2 separate regions of the Homo sapiens genome follow, and region 2 is linked to region 1. Evidence: promoter capture Hi-C in 16 types of primary human blood cells and fetal thymus (Javierre and others, 2016). All regions are on one chromosome and are shown on one strand. The core of a region is centred on a gene start or on the middle of the fragment in contact, and the rest is flanking DNA. Distances in the headings are between cores, read along the strand shown. Region 1 holds the start of NT5C1A (5'-nucleotidase, cytosolic IA). Region 2 overlaps LINC02811 (long intergenic non-protein coding RNA 2811).

Evidence for each region. Contacts are between HindIII fragments. The CHiCAGO score rates a contact against its expected background, and 5 or more counts as called.
Region 2: a fragment that was not itself captured here is called in contact with the fragment with the promoter of NT5C1A in region 1 in 1 of 17 cell types (megakaryocytes); the score reaches 5.0 in megakaryocytes.

What each region holds. Positions count from the first base shown.
Region 1 is chr1:39,670,580-39,673,625 of GRCh38, reverse strand. It overlaps NT5C1A (5'-nucleotidase, cytosolic IA), which reads left to right and starts at 1,519. Exons shown (of 6, transcript NM_032526.3): 1 at 1,519-1,722. The coding sequence starts at 1,588. RefSeq lists a silencer at 1,327-1,736. The HindIII fragment of the contact is 2,595 bases long and covers 194-2,788 here.
Region 2 is chr1:39,803,359-39,806,404 of GRCh38, reverse strand. All of the region lies in intron 3 of LINC02811 (long intergenic non-protein coding RNA 2811), which reads left to right. LOC130932201 (a long non-coding RNA gene) reads right to left here. Exons shown (of 4, transcript NR_186719.1): 2 at 1,373-1,527. Among named protein-coding and RNA genes, the nearest start is that of LINC02811, 13 kb to the left of the region's middle. The HindIII fragment of the contact is 1,998 bases long and covers 610-2,607 here.

The DNA of each region.
Region 1 (3,046 bases), core at 270-2,769:
GCCAGGATGGCCTCATTCACATGTCTGTCAATTGTGCCTATAGTCACCTGGGCTGTCGCTAGCTTCTTATCCTCCAGGTCCTATCTGTCTCACTACGTGGCCTTTCCAGCAGGATAGTCCAGACTTATTTACATAGTAGCTGGCTCCCAAGAGGGCAAAAATGGAATCTGCAAGGCCTCTTAAGACGTAAGCTTGGAAACCACAGAGCACCACTTCTACTCCATTCAATTGGTCAAAGCAAGTCACAGGGCCAGCTCAGACTGGACTCCACCTCTGAATGGGAGGAATGTCAAAGTCACATTTCCAAAGGACAGGCAGGATGGAAGAGGTTTTTGGGCCATCTCTGGAAACAATCTTCTAGAAGTAAGTCTAAACACACTTCCCCCAATCCTAACATTTTATTATGATTTTTCCCTTCCTCCCACACAAGGGTTGGTTTATTCCTCCCAGGACCTGGTGGAGGCTGAGGGGATCACTCCATTCTGTAGCCCCCTCACCTCCCCAGTCAGAGGCCCTCCTAGCTAAGCCAGTGTTTTCTCCTGCTTCTCCCACCCACCCATGCACACCTCTGAGAGAGGCTGTCTGCTTCCTGGCCTGTACCTTGGGATGGGTGACATTTGTGTCTGCACCCTGAGACTAGTACAGAGCTCTGCATCAAGAGGGACAACACCCTGGAATTCCAGGATGGTAGTTCCGAGGCCCCTCTTCTGCCCTCCCTCTATCCAGCCCCTTCATGGCCTATAACAAATCACCCCAAGCTGGGCAGGTGGGGGCCTAGGAATGCGCGCCCTCTGCTGACCACCAAAGGGCCAGCAAGAATTCGGGTTCAGAGTCCCTGGGAGTCTCTCTGGCCTGGGTCCCCACCCCAGGCCAAGGTCTCGACCTGAGACCACCCGAGCCTGGTCTCAACATGGACTTCAAGGGCCCCTCCTAGGTGGTGTGGAGGAGCTGCCGGGTTGGGCCCTTCACTGAGCTCCCGCTGGGAGCAGGCTTCTGCTAGTGAGAGGAGCCATCCATGCATCACCTCCTGCCCGTCTGCCGGATGGACTGGCCTCGGAGGGAAGGGGACATCGTCAGGATCCCAGGGTCCTAGCTCCTAAAGGAAAGATGGGCAGCTAGCTTTTGGGAGGGGAGCGGCTAGCTTTTCATTTTGTCCTTTGGGGATCACTATCCTGGGGGAAAAAAAAAGTTGTCAGGCCTCTCCTGTCTCCGCGCCCTGCAGCGCCTGCGAAGAACATCATTTTCGCAATCCCCAATCCGCTGCAGCCCACAAACCCAGAGAGCCAGAGAGCCCCCCTCACCACCCAACCGGCTGCTGGCGTGGGTCGGTCGGGGAAGGAGAGCCCAGCTATCCCTCATACCGTACAGCAGTAGCAGCAGCAGCGGCAGCGACACACGGGCGACCGAGAGGGCCAGTGTGACCTCCCCCCGCCCGGCGGGCGGGGAGCCCAGCTCACACGCACAGCCTCCTCGCCGCTGCCCGCCCCCTTCCCTCGCCGGGACTCGCCTCCCTCCTGCAGCCCAGCCCCAGCCACCTCCGCGTCTACGCCGCCGCCTGCTCTGGCCGGGCCGGGTCAGAGCCGGAGCATGGAACCTGGGCAGCCCCGGGAGCCCCAGGAGCCCCGCGAGCCCGGGCCAGGAGCGGAGACCGCTGCGGCCCCGGTCTGGGAGGAAGCCAAGATTTTCTACGACAACCTCGCGCCCAAGAAGAAACCCAAATCGGTAAAAGCAATGCACGGGTATGCGGGGGACGGGGGAAGGGTTACCCCGGAGGAGGGGTCATAAGTCTCTTGGGAAGGGACCCGTGGCGCCCCTCTGGGAGGGGACGCAGCTCCTCAGCCCCAGAATGCGCCCTGCAGCTGGCGCGGGCTCGGGTTTATTTTGGGAGCTCTGCTCTGGTGTATTTTTTTACCGGGACTCGGGTTCCACGCCAGGCTCCCCCTCCCCCATGCTGTCATCAGGGCCCAGCTAGAGGCCCGCAGCCCCAGCCCCTCCCCACTCGGGCCGCCGGGGAGCGCGGATTGCACTTGTTGGCGAAGCTGGTCCGCAGCGCTTCCAGAAGCGCCCCAGGCGCGGGTAACCAGACTTTGGGAACCCGGTTCCTGGCTGTGCGCTCCGGTCTCCGCCATCTGGGCATCGGGCTCCGGACCTGAGACTCTGCGTTTGGGGTCTGGCTCTGGGTCCTGGGCCCTGGGCTGGGGGCAGTGCGCTCCCCGCGTCCTAAGGAAAGGGAGCTGCTCTCTCCAGGCACTGGGATCCACACTCTGCGCTGGGGGGCGATCGGCGCCCCTGGCCGCAGGCTCCCAGCGCTGGACTCTGCCCCCCAGCTCGGGTTCTGCTCCCCTTGCAGTGGGCATTAACATCCCCACGACCCTGTGGTGGTGTCAACCGTCTGGGACCTCACAGAGGAGCTCTCTCCTCTCTGCCATCAAACAAGTTGATGATGCCCTGGTCTGCCCCTGGACCTTGCTGTCTCCAACTTCCCAGATCTCAGAGCTTGAGGAGAAAACCGAGAATAGAGGTTGGCCCACAGCGGTCCTCCAAAGAGCTCCAGCTTGATCTTAAAGCAATTTGCTGCTTCCCTCCAAGAACCCTTCCCCAACAGGTCCACCCTATCAGCAATCATTCAATTAGCACCTCCAAGCTCTGCTCAAGAGTGGGGATTGAAGAATTAAATAACCTGAGTCCCTGCCTCAGGAGCTCACTGCACAATGATGGAGGCTCCAGAGATGAGAGCCTAGGGGAGTTGGGGGGGGAGTAGAGTAGTGACATCACACTGGGGAAAGCTTTGTAGAAGTGGCACGTATCCTGATCTTAAAGCCTGAGTAGGTGGAGTTTCCCAGGGAGAGGGAAACAGGACAGGCAAAAGTCATGCAGATGTCTCTGAAGCTCAGGACTGTGTTCCTGAATAAGTACTGAATGAAGAATGCAGGATTGTTGGAAGAAGAGCTGGAGGGATGTGGAAGAGCCCACAGAGGGCCTTGGGGATCATGTTAAGGAGTCTGGACCTTACTCAAGGGGGTCAGGGATTTCCAAACTAGCTTCC
Region 2 (3,046 bases), core at 359-2,858, 130 kb before region 1:
ATACAAAAATTAGCTGGGTGTGGTGGTGGGCACCTGTAATCCCAGCTACTCAGGAGGCTGAGGCAGAAGAATCGCTTGAACCTGGGAGGTGGAGGTTGCAGTGAGCTGAGATCATGCCACTGCACTCCAGCCTGGGCGACAGAGCTAGACTCCCTCTCAAAAATAAATAAATAAATAAATAAATAAATAAATAAATAAATAAATAGAAACACTTCATTAAAAAAAGTTCAACCCATCAAAAGATGAACTAATTCTAAGCCAAGCATGGTAGCACGTGCTGTAGTTCCAGCTACTCCAGAGGCTGAGGTGGGACGATCCCTTGAGCTCAGAAATAAGACCAAATCAGCCTAGGCAGGGAGACATCATCTCTAAAAAAAGTAAAATTAAAAAAAGATAAAATAACTCTAAACTTAGATTCTCCAACAACATAGCCTCAAAATACTTAAAGCAAAAACTGACAGAACTCAAAAAAGAAATAGACAAATTCAAAACCACAATGGGAATTTTAACATACTTCTCAATAATGGGTCAAAAAATTAGCCAGGTGTGGTGGCACATGCCTGTAGTCCCAGCTGCCCAGGAGGCTGAGGTGGGAGGATTGCTTAAGCTTGGGAAGTCGAGGCTGTGGTGAGTCATGACCACACCACTGCGCTCTAGCTTGGGTGACAGAGCAAGACTCTCAATAAAAAAGAAAGAAGAAAGGAAGGAAGGAAAGAAAGAAAAGGAAAGGAAAGAGGGAAAAAGGGACACAAAAAAAGAAATGTCAGAAATGAAAAGGGAGAAATCACTATAGATCCTACAGATGATGGTAACTCATACATTTCAGGTAGAATTGTAAATGCGTACTAGCATTTAGAAATCAGTTTGGTATTGTTTACTAAAGTTGAAGGTATACATATCCTGTCACCCAAAGTTTTATTCTTAGGTGTACAGCCAAGAGACACATATGCACTTTTGGGAAAAAAAACCCTCAAATATTTATTAATAGTACAATGTATAAGTGAAAAATACTATGCAGCAATGAAAACAAACTACTGTTTTATGCAATAGCATGGATGATGCTCACAAACCTATTATTGAGTAAAACAAAACAAAAAAAACCTTACCCCCCAAAATATATACTGTATGATTCTACTTACATAAAGTTCAAAAATAGCAAAAAAATAGTGTTTGGTATTTGAAGTCAGGGAAATCAACAAGAGGTGACAAAACACTTATCCTCAGGACTAGCAAGAACAGAAAAGTGTTATTACTCCTAAGCCTAAAGGAACAAGGGGAGAAGATGTCGCTAGAATCCTACATAAGAGATGACACCTGGATGGACTTATGACCTTTAAGTAGAGGACAGGGAGGGATCTGGGGAAATGAATACCCTGATCTCTTTTTCCTCCCATGCTTGTCTTCTGCCAGTGCTCCCCGTTGGTCAAGCCCAATCAGAAGGTGGAGAGTAGGAAATCCATTTCCTGCAGCTTATAAAGGTTGGCTTCCAGGAACACAGAACAAGATGGAGAAGAATAAATAATGGATCTGGAGGAGAAAACAGAGAACACTAGAGTAGTATTAAATCTGGAAGAAAAATTATTGGATTGTCTAATAAATTTTACAAAAAATGTAGTTATTTGATAACAAAAGTAAACCATATAATGAACTTTTAAATTTTTCCAAGGTATTATTGACTCCTGAAACTTGGCCAGATGGTGCCTGCAAAATTCTATGGGTTCAGGTAAAAAAAGATTACTACAATTAAGCAAATTAATTAAATATGACATTCAAATTAATCATCTTGGCCAGGCACAATGACTCACACCTATAATCCCAGCACTTTGGGAGGCTGAGGCAGGAGGATCGCTTGAGCCTAGGGTTTGAGACCAGACTGGGCAATAGAGTGAGACCTCATATCTACAAAAAGTTTAAAAATTAGCTGAGTGTGCTGGTGCATGCCTGTGATTCAGGACTCAGGTGATGCCACCTCCTCAGAGGACCTTCCCTGAGCAACCCATCTGGAGTAGAACCCCCACCTCAAGCTGGGCGTGGTGACTCAGGCCTGTAATCCCAGCACTTTGGGAGCCAAAAGCAGGCAGATCACTTGAGGTTAAGAGTTCGAGGCCAGCCTGGCCAACATGGTGAAACCCGGTCTCTCCTAAAAATACAAAAATTAACTGGGTGTGGTGACGTGTGCCTGTAGTCTCAGCAACTCAGGAGGGTGCGGCAGAAGAATTGCTTAAACCCGGGAGGCAGAGGTTGCAGTGACCCAAGATTGCACCACCGCACTCTAGCACTCTGTTGCACTCCAGGCAACAGAGCAAGACCCCATTTAAAAAAAAAAAAAATCTTCAGAGCAATGGAAAGGTATCAAAGGATTGCTTGTTGGGGAGAAGTATAACCTTATTTGCATTTGAAAACAAGTACCCCTGCAACCATCTCCTAACTCCTCTCCCCCCACACAGTCTCATCTCCTGCCAATGAATAGTGCAAAGTTCCAGAGAAGCCTGGAGGGATGGAATTCTGAGCACAGAAGGAACATCTTTCAGCAGTGAGAAGGAAAGGAGGATTAGGCAGCTATAACATTAGGTGATCTGCTGAGAGCGAGGAGCTAGAAGGGAAGCTTGAAGTCTGAGGACAGTGCAACTAAACATCAAAATGCACTGGAATTGTCTAACGGCATTGAGGTTGGTGACTGAATTTATAGTGTTACTTACACCCCCAGTAGTTCTTAAAAAATGCTTCCTGGCCTGGCTGTAAGCATAAAGGAGAGGCATAGTTAGGTTCACCTAGAGTTTGGAGGGTTTGTTTTGTTTTGTTTCTTGAAACAGAGTCAGGCTGGGCACGGTTGCTCATGCCTGTAATCCCAGCACTTTGGGAGGCCGAGGCGGGCGGATCATGAGGTCAGGAGATCGAGAGCATCCTGGCTAATGCAGTGAAACCCCGTCTGTAATAAAAATACAAAAAATTAGCCGGGCGAGGTGGCGGGTGCCTGTAGTCCCAGCTACTCCGGAGGCTGAGGCAGGAGAATGGCGTGAACCTGGGAGGCGGAGCTTGCAGTGAA